3 separate regions of the Homo sapiens genome follow, and regions 1 and 3 are each linked to region 2. The links are contacts of gene promoters, found by promoter capture Hi-C in blood cells and fetal thymus (Javierre and others, 2016). All regions are on one chromosome and are shown on one strand. The core of a region is centred on a gene start or on the middle of the fragment in contact, and the rest is flanking DNA. Distances in the headings are between cores, read along the strand shown. Region 1 overlaps REV3L (REV3 like, DNA directed polymerase zeta catalytic subunit). Region 2 holds the start of TRAF3IP2 (TRAF3 interacting protein 2). Region 3 overlaps REV3L (REV3 like, DNA directed polymerase zeta catalytic subunit).

Region 1 (3,282 bases), core at 736-3,235, 270 kb before region 2:
CTACATTTTAAAATTTTCCAAAAAGAAACATACCATGAACTCTTTGGTTAAAATTTTCTTCATCTACATGGCTAATTTTAGTTTAGTATTCCCTCTTACTGGTAGAGAATGATGCCACTTTTGATATAGTACACCAGAATGAATTTGAGGGCTGGTGGGGTCCACTCTACCATCAACCACTCTACTGTCTCATGATTCTAGTACAGACTCACTGCTAAGAAAATAGAAAAGAAAGGAATAAAGTTGGCATTTAAGAGGCAATATAATCTTCTTTTAAGATGTCTCTTATTTGTCTTTAATTTGTAAAGTTTTCCTCTGTCTCTTTTGAGGGGAGATACAGGAGAGAAAAAAGGGACCCTATTTTTAGTTTGGATATCTTCTGAAAAATATAAACAATAAGCCTATTAGAGTATCATTAATTCTAAGATAGTCTTAATTTAAAATAATGTAGAAGAACAACTAGTAGCATCTACACATTAAAACAATTTAAATCTTTGTAGGTAATATATTTTGACCATTAAGTTGCCATTTAAGTCTGCCTGATTCTAATAAAGGGCAGAAAGTATAAGCATACGTTTATTTCTTTCAATATTTCGTTAACTAAAATTTAACAATTTAAAGATTTAAAACCTAAATTCAAGAAAAACAAGGTGACTGGTTTGTTCCTGAAGTGATTTCTTAGAAGATTCTCATATCTTTGACTTTTTGAGATAAAATATTCAAGCAAACTCGGTGTTTTTGTTTTCTATTATGTGCCAACAATATCTAAACCATTATCAGCTCTCCAAAAGTTAAGCCATAGTTGTTATCTTTCATTTACAAGAGAGTATTACCTTGACAAAAGCTACTCCATTGGGGGACACTGTGATATCATGCCTAACTTGGTAAAGTAAATCTGGAGGTACTCTCAGAGAGGTACAGCCAAATTTGAACTCATCATACCTGTTAAGAAAGAGAACATTAAGCAAATACTTCCTCAAATCATAGAACAGAGATTTTACGCAATTTAAAAAATCTTTCTAACTCCATTAGAAATTCATTTTCAAACATCTAAACAAGAATTCATGTACTTAGTAATATGTTTATTTGCCTCATTACCAAAATAGTTTTTCAAATATTCATAATTTATTACAAGAAACATTTCTTAAATGGCACTATCCTAAAATTTATGGGTAAAATCTATACTGAAATACCAAATTTCAACTCAACATCTGATCATCTTATTTATTTTATTATTATTATTTTTTGAGATGGAGTCTCGCTCTGTCACCCAGGCTGGAGTGCAGTGGCGCGATCTCGGCTCACTGCAAGCTCCGCCTCCCGGGTTCATGCCATTCTCCTGCCTCAGCCTCCCGAGTAGCTGGGACTACAGGTGCCTGCCACCATACCCGGCTAATTTTTTGCATTTTTAGTAGAGACAGGGTTTCCTCATGTTAGCCAGGATGGTCTCGATCTCCTAACCTCATGATCTGCCCGCCTTGGCCTCCCAAAGTGCTGGGATTACAGGTGTGAGCCACCACGTCCAGCCCAATCATCTTATACTAAATTACTTAAATAAAAATTTATTTTAACATCCTTGTGAATATATTTAAAGAATAATTTAAACCTTAAATAGAAATACTGTAAATCTTGTAAATTTTCCAAATTCCTGTTTTTAATAAAAAGACAGGATTACCAATATAATTTCCACAGATGCTTTCTATGAAGGAATATAGGATATACTAAAACCAACACATGATCTCAAATACGCAAAAATCAATAAAAAGGAAGACTCCGTTATTTCCTACAATTTAAGAAAAGTATCTAATCCTTTGAGAATTTAAAATGTTATTATCAGTTTATAAAATTTAATTTACATTAATTAATAAAACCTAACATTTAATTTTTAAAATCCTGGACTATTTATAAGAAAAATAAAGAGGAGGTCTAGTTGAAGTTATAAGATCATAATCCTCAAACTGTTCCACTGAAAGGTAATTTACATCAACAATTTAACTTTCATTTTAAAAGAGACTATAGTTACATATGGAGTGAAACAGTTGCAAGGCTGACCTATTCCCAATCCTCTTCATGAGTCATCCATCCATGAAGCTGGATTAATCATATGGTGATCCATGTCAATTGGTAAGACAACTATAATGAATGGATTAGCTGGGATACAGTCCATTTATCTTGCTCATAGGGAAGGTGTCCAGAGCAAAGAGACACTCAGAAAGTGTCTAATTTTAGTAAGAAGTACAAAGCACAACAATATTATTGTAAATGTGAAAAAAACCTTACTTTCCCAAGTTCTCCACATGGCCAAGGCAGGTGGAAAAGCAGTAGTTATATGCAATCACAATAGAAGGATAAAGTGATTGGAAATCCAAAACGAGAACAGAGTTGCTATAGAAGCGGGATTCAGGCTCCATAATTAGAGGAACACACTGTGGGGCTCTCATCTGGGATCTTTGCTGAACACTAGGTGTCACAGGAATATAGTTCATTGGTTTAGCAATACGCAACATCATTGATTCCACACGGTACTGCAGGGAGAAAGGGAGGTGAGAAGAGAAGAAACACAGTTAAATATATTGGTCATTTGAATATATAATCATTTGAGGATAATCTGCTTTTCAGAATAAGATTGTATGACTTTTTTTTTTTTTTGAGACAGTGTTTCGCTCTTGTTGCCCAAGCTGGAGTACGATGGCACGATTGCGGCTCACTGCAACCTCCGCCTCCCAGGTTCAAGCGATTCTCCTACCTCAGCCTCCCGAGTAGCTGGGATTACAGGCATGCGCCACCATGTCCAGCTAATTTTTTGTATTTTTAGTAGAAACAGGGTTTCACCATGTTAGCCAGGCTGGTCTCGAACTCCTGACCTCAGGTGATCCGCCCACCTCAGCCTCCCAAAGTGCTGGGATTATAGGCGTGAGCCACTATGACCAGCCTGTAATACTGGTTATTTAGTCAGCTTTCAGATGCGAAAAGGGATATATGTAAATCCTTTTCCTATTCCTACGACTTTTATAAAAACTATAAAACATGTCAAATAACTTAAAAGATAAGTCAATTTTAAAAGACAGATGCAATTAGATCTCTTTTTATTTTTATTATTTACTTATTTATTTTGAGATGAAGTCTCGCTCTGTTGTCCAGGCTAGAGTGCAATGGCAAAATCTCGGCTCACTGCAACCTCCACCTCCAGGGTTCAAGTGATTCTCCTGTCTCAGCCTCCCAAGTAGCTGGGATAACAGGCTTGTGCCATCATGCCCAGCTAATTTTTGTATTTTTAGTAGA
Region 2 (3,343 bases), core at 810-3,309:
CTGTTTAACCCACCCCATGCAAGGAACAGAGCAGAGTAACTACATTATCCATCTTTTGATGCTCCATCATGGAGTGACTGGTAGCTGCAGCAGCAGATTAAGAATGACTGTGGTGTGTGGCCTTTAAGGATTAGAGCGAGGCTGGCAAGTGCACAACAGTTAGCCTGCTTTCAGATAATGGTGCATCGTTGTTTGAAAATAAAATCAGGAACTCATTGCAGGTGAAATATCTTGAAATTCCTGTCCTTTCATCCCAGGGGAATAGAGAGAAATGCCTAAAAACATGACACGGACTACACCAGGACATCCCACAGAAACCAAAAGTCCTGCACCAGCCCATCCCAGTCAGCTAGGGCCTGTTTGAACTGTATTGATGGCAAGTAATTGCCAAAAAGAAACAATGACAATTTTTTTTTAAGTCACGGTCTGGAAAAAGTTAAGGATTCTGTGTATCCGCCATCTAATAATGTCTCTAATCACAGTCATCACCCTTACATGGTATTAGGATGTGTTTCATAGTTTCCCTTCCCCTCCCATTAAAGGCCCCACACACAGTGACTGGTCCAGCTGAGGAGTGGTTTCCAGGTCCAGCTACAGCAGTAACTCTGGCTTCTGGAGCTGGGCTTGTCTGCCAGTTCTCTGGCCTGCCTTGACTCTGTGGACAATAGCACAGACTATCCTTCCTGGGTAACCCAAATGGGACATGAACTAATTCGAGAAACTCCCTGTTTTCTCCTATTTGGCTAGAGCCAGTAATAAGGCCTCAATTCCAGGCAGCCCTCCCGCAGAGACACGTGTCTCCCAGCCTTTCGCCCTGACTGCTGCTTTACCTCTTGCCTTGAGAGCAGACGAGTGAAACAGAAATCAAAGCAGTTGACATGGAAGGGGGGTGAGCACCTACTAGGCATTTGGTAGCATGCTGGATTCTGGGAGGTAGAAAAATATCAGGAAACAAAGTCCTTTCCTCAAGGGGGTAACCAACTGGTAGTGGGAGGTAAAATTAAAATATGTGAATAATCGGTAAACAAAACAAGTCTTGAAGACCACCCATTACCACTACCCCTCTGGGACTATCCTGGCTTTGTTTTATAAGGGAATTTGACACACTCATGTTAGATCACCACCCCCCATCAATTTACTGATGAAGAAATCCAGGCTTAGTGGAGTCAGAGTGAATTGCCTAAGTCATGGAACCACAAGAAGTGAAGAACTTGAAACCAAGTTTCTTGTCCTTTTAAAAAATTTGGCCTCTTGTTCTCCTGTTCCTTTAAAAAAAAAAAAATCCCCCTATTCTAAGATACCATCTTGAACTTGAAAGTCACAAGAAGCTTGATTAGCTTCTAAGATCAAGTTCTGGCATTTCTCCCCCTTGTTCCCAAAGGCTCCGTCCAGCGCCAGGCTGGGAGGGCTGGAGGGCGGCTGCGGAGAGGGGCCGGGAGGCGGCTCACAGCCAGCACAGAGCTCAGCAGAACTTCCTGGCCCAAAAATGTGCTGTTGATTTTTTTCCCCCCTGCACGAAACAAGGATTGAGAAAACTGCCACTGACGTGTTCTGGGGCTGAAAGCCAATTACTTAATCTTTGCCATCCCTGGCTCTCTCTTTGGAGAAGTGGGGCTTGAATTCTTGAGAGAAACTTGTGGGGACACTAAGTACCCAAACGAATGGTTCCCAGGCAGCTCCGAGCTGTCCCCGTGTGCGAGCCTCCTCTCCTCAAAGGGTTAACCCGGCGGGGCTCGCTGGCCTGAAATACTATACTAGCAACACATCCTTGCAGCACAAACTTCACTGTCATTTTCTCAGCTAAGATGGTCTCTGTGCGAACAAGTTAAAGGAGGGGAGACGAACACAGAGGAAAGTAGAGGCAGAATGTTTCAGTAAAGGAGAAACAGCGTGCTTTGGGAAATAGGTCAGAGGTGAAGAAATAAGACCAGGCAAGTGGCAACTCCGAATAACTTACCTTAGATCCACCACGGACAGACAGACTGGGCCCGGAGGGTAGTCGGCTCTCGGCGGCTTCTCGTCTCCCTCCACCTTCTCCGGGCCCAGGTAAGTAGAAGAACAGGCTCTGAAGCAGGAAGTGGAAGCTGTATGCAAATTTCTACGGAGCCTAGGAAGCCTCTGCTCAAAATCTCCCTGTGGGCAGTGAATCAACGGCTGAGGAGTCACTTTATTTCTTAAAACAGAAACCTCCTTCATTCATGAGAAAGGGCCAGTGACCAATTAGGCGGCATTTTTGTTTTCGCCACCCAGCTAAGAAGCTGCCCAGGAGTGGGCAGAACCTCAGTGTAGTCGCAGTGCCCTCGCCTGGGAGGGTGTCTCCGGGAGGAGATTGAACTCGAATGTTAAGAATTAGTAATCATTAGCAGCTCCAAAGGAGGGGATTGTGGGCAGATAATGGGGAAGAAGAGGGAGTCGAGCTTCTTCCACCTCCTCTAACTGCTTAAAACATCAGCATTGCCGAGCGCGGTGACTCACGCCTGTAATCCCAGCACTTTAGGAGGCCGAGGCGGGAGGATCACGAGGTCAGGAGATCGAGACCATCCTGGCTAACAAGGTGAAACCCCGTCTCTACTAAAAAATACAAAAATTAGCCGGGCGTAGTGGCGGACGCCTGTAGTCCCAGCTACTCGGGAGGCTGAGGCAGGAGAATGGCGTGAACCCGGGAGGTGGAGCTTGCAGTGAGCCGAGATCGCCACTGCACTCCAGACTGGGCGACAGAGCGAAGACTCCGTCTCAAAAAAAAAATTTAAAAAAACCCAAAAAATCAGTATTTGCTGCCCATAACCACTGGGGGGGTGGGGGGGGGCTCACTGACCATGCTCCTGGACACACGTGTACACACAGCATACACATGCCTGTGGCTTGTGCACACACACCACCCTATTGTCAGGCACAAAAAAAGTGGTTAATTTTAAGAACACACACACACACATACATACACATGCACACATGCACACTAACCTCCTCTGGCTGCATTTTCCTGACCTCAAGATTTTTTTTCTCCCCTTTCCTTCCCATTGTTTAATCAGTAGCCTGCAGAATTTATTGCATGAAGGAGCGCTGCAGGCAGGATGATACCCAGCGATGTGAACAGAGAGAGAGAGAGACAACTGCCTTTCGGGGCAGCAGTCAGTAATGGGAGCAGTGTTAGCTGGAGCTTTGGAGTCAGGAGGACCTGGGTACGAACTCAGCCATGTCACTGGCCAGCTGGGCGCCCTGGGCAGACACACCATGCTCCTGGTGCTGGACTTGTCTGCCTGTTGAAGGGGTCCAAGTGTCAGTCCACTCAGCCGGCTATCTCTCTACTCTCATCAAGGGGACAGGCCCCAGAGCATCCCTGTTC
Region 3 (3,308 bases), core at 459-2,958, 300 kb before region 2:
ATAATTTGGCCAACTTGATAGAAGCTAGGAATGTGTTTGTAGAATACTTAAAACGTTTATCTTTTAGGAAACCAGGAGAGCATGGCATCTTTGCCAGTTTAGGACAGAGGATCTGCTTTGCTCTCACAGTGAAACAGGAAAGGTTCCCTTGTTCCCCTTGCAGGGTGTGCGAGAGGGACAATGGCTCGCTTCTTCAGTGCCCCGCTGCTCAAACCTCTAGGGGAGCACACAGACGGGCAGGTTGTGGAGCTCTGGCCCCATGGCAGTGTCTAGGGGTGAATGTTTACAGCTGAAGCCCCAGTGGGTGTGTGTTACAGGGTATTCTTTTAGTTTGCTGTCTATAGGCGGCTTGTGTTAACCAGCTCAATTAGACCCTCTAGCTTGTCTCAAGGATGGAGGGCTTTCTGTATTCCGGGTTCTTGCCTTGGTGTACCAGAAGAATCCGATCACCCGTGGGCTAGGAGAATGAGTGCAACGTTTTATTGAGTGGAAGTAGCTCTCATCTGATGGTGGAATCAGCAGGGAGATGGTTTTCCCCTGGAGTTGGGCTTCTAGGTGGCCCCGTCTCTTCTCTGACTGCCCTGGCCAAACTCCACCTTGTCCTGCCGGTCAATGGCCTGCCAGCATGCCAGTGCCTCTCGGTGTGCTGTTCTGCTGGCGTGCTCCTCTTGACGACCAGCTGCTTGGGTCTTCCACCGAAGTGTTCCTCACAATGTCCAGCCGCTCGTGTGTCTGCCCACTAGGGTCTCGGGTTTTTATAGGCCCAGGATTGGGGCATGGCAGGCCAAGGTGGTCTTGGAAAATGGTAACATTTGGGCATGAAAGCAGGAGTGCCTATCCTCACCTAGATCTGTGGGGGTGGAGCCCTAGCCAGGGACCCACCTTTCTCTACCCAGCACTTCCCCTCCCGCTTTCCGTATCATTTTACGGGACCACACTCTTCCCTTCCCAGCACTCCCATATCAATAGCACATAAAACCTTTAGTTCTACTGAAAATTTGGAGTGAAATCTCTCCATAGTTAGAGCACATGTACTATTTGGTAAGCTTACCCTTGGTAATTCATGATACCAGCTGAAGACATCAATACCAATAAGTGAGAAGATTCTTGCCAAGGGTGGAAGGATTTGCTTGGTAATATAGTAAGTAGCATTCAGTCTCAGAGTTGGGTCCTGCAGGACTTCCACTGGGCGCCTTACAAGCTGGATAAGTGGTACTCCGGGGGTCCCATAAATGATGACGTATGGCACTCGCTCCCCAACCTGAGGCTCAGAGCGCCGGTCATAAGTCAGCATTTTCCTATTCGAATTCAAAGAAAAAAACCACACCCAAATACTGTTATGGAAGCCATCTTTCTCACAAATTAAGTCAGAATTAAACAATAATAAAACAATGAAAAAACTACAAAAGACAATTTCAAAACAGAATTACTATTTCTTTGAGAATAATATATATACATTTTGCTTAGTTGACACCAAGTGTAGATATCCTACAAGAGTTTAAAAATTACTCTGTAAATCACTGTTACCTGGAAAATAATGAGTTGGCAGATATCAACTAGCTTAAGATGTATTTTAGGTGGGAGTGGTGGCTCATGCCTGTAATTCCAGCACTTTGGGAGGCCAAGGATCACCTGAGCCCAGGAGTTTGAGACCAGCTTGGGCAACATAGCGAGACCCCCATCTCCACAAAAAAATTAGCCACCATAATGGTGCACACCTGTTATCCCAGCTACTTGGGAGGCTGATGTGGGAGGTTCGCTTGAGCCTGGGAGGTCAAGGCTGCAGTGAGCTGTGATTGCACCACTGCTTTCCAGTCTGGGCGACAGAGTGAGACCCTGCCTCCAGGGGCAGGAAAAAGATGTATTTTATCCCCTAAGAATGAGAACTAACTATCATTAAATCTATCATGAAAGATAAGAGAAAATTTACCTGGTTAAACTATCTGATTCCAGAATGATACCATCTAAATGCTTTGGTAGAACAATATTAAGGACTACCTAGTGATTTTGATGTGGGAAAAACAAATGAATCAAGGACTGTGTCACAATTTCTTTGCATAAGTTTCTGAAGGAAAGCCCAAAAGAGGATTTCCTCTTCACATCTTACGAAGTATGAGGGAATATTCACTAACTTTCAGTGAGGCTTCATGTGCGCAGGTAAAGAAACAATTTTGTGTCTGTGTCTATGGACTGTCTTTTCATTTGGGTCTTCTAGACCTGTGCAGAATCTCAGGACTATCCTGGCAAGGTACTGAGGGTATCATTACCTTGTAAGTTCAAGGGCTGGCACACAAGCTCCTGGTTTATAAGAAAAACTTCCTCTGTATTCCTTGGCAAAGATAAAGTCTTGTATGCTGGCCTTTCCTTCCAGAAGCTTCATACATTGTCGCTGAACATACTGTTTAATTAGACTTATATCTCTCGTTTCAAATAGCAGCTTTAGAGAACGCTCAAGTATCTTAAAACAAAAAAGATATGCAAGTAAAGATAAAATATCTCCTAGTATGTTTCACCATTGTTATTACACTTTCAATTATGTAACTACTGGGTAACCTGCTAACCTACCTAAATAATCTGTTACTTACAATGATGGGATAATAAAATTATTAAAAATTGAAAGTTATTTGAGACTTTAGAGAGCTTGCTATTTCTAAAAATAGAATATCATGTAGTTTAAGGAAAACCATGTGGAATGACATGCAAATTAACATTTGTCATGTGATAAGCAACATAAAACACGTTAAGTTTTTTTTTTTTAATAGTCAAAGCCTCTAGGTACAAGAAACCAGACACGATTTCATGTATTGTTTTTTTATTTACCAGTATAGAAAGGGTCCTGATTCAGTCACAGGAAACACAGAGAAGTTTAAAGATCACCAGGCAGTCAAATCAAAATCAGCCTTTTTGACTTTTTATAAAAATGTTGATAAATAACTATGACAGAATTTTCTGTGTTGGAAATTTCTACTAGGAAATAACCAGCATGCAGTGGATTTATGTAAGATTAATTTTTTTTTTTTTTTTGAGACGGAGTCTTGCTCTGTCGCTCAGGCTGGAGTGCAATGGCGTGATCTCGGCTCACTGCAACCTCTGCCTCCCGGGTTCAAGCGACTCTCCTGCCTCAGCCTCCCGAGTAGCTGGGACTACAGGCGTGTGCCACCACGCCCGGCTAATTTTTTGTTTTAGTAGAGATGGGGTTTCACCGTGTTAGCCAGGATGGTCTCGATCTCCTGACCTCATGATCCGCCCGCCTCGGCCTCCCAAAGTGCTGGGATTATAGGCGTGAGCCACCGTGCCCGGCCAAGTAG

Evidence for each region. Contacts are between HindIII fragments. The CHiCAGO score rates a contact against its expected background, and 5 or more counts as called.
Region 1: a fragment that was not itself captured here is called in contact with the fragment with the promoter of TRAF3IP2 in region 2 in 2 of 17 cell types (erythroblasts and M0 macrophages); the score reaches 5.3 in erythroblasts.
Region 3: a fragment that was not itself captured here is called in contact with the fragment with the promoter of TRAF3IP2 in region 2 in 2 of 17 cell types (neutrophils and naive CD4 T cells); the score reaches 6.1 in neutrophils.

What each region holds. Positions count from the first base shown.
Region 1 is chr6:111,330,843-111,334,124 of GRCh38, forward strand. REV3L (REV3 like, DNA directed polymerase zeta catalytic subunit) reads right to left here. Exons shown (of 32, transcript NM_001372078.1): 23 at 2,281-2,525; 24 at 834-942. Among named protein-coding and RNA genes, the nearest start is that of SLC60A2, 73 kb to the left of the region's middle. The HindIII fragment of the contact is 4,545 bases long and covers 1-3,282 here.
Region 2 is chr6:111,603,819-111,607,161 of GRCh38, forward strand. It overlaps TRAF3IP2 (TRAF3 interacting protein 2), which reads right to left and starts at 2,060. Exons shown (of 9, transcript NM_147686.4): 1 at 1,958-2,060. RefSeq lists enhancers at 1,769-1,838, 2,129-2,178, 3,024-3,343. The HindIII fragment of the contact is 15,213 bases long and covers 1,327-3,343 here.
Region 3 is chr6:111,308,802-111,312,109 of GRCh38, forward strand. REV3L (REV3 like, DNA directed polymerase zeta catalytic subunit) reads right to left here. Exons shown (of 32, transcript NM_001372078.1): 29 at 2,268-2,458; 30 at 1,052-1,298. Among named protein-coding and RNA genes, the nearest start is that of SLC60A2, 51 kb to the left of the region's middle. The HindIII fragment of the contact is 1,328 bases long and covers 1,045-2,372 here.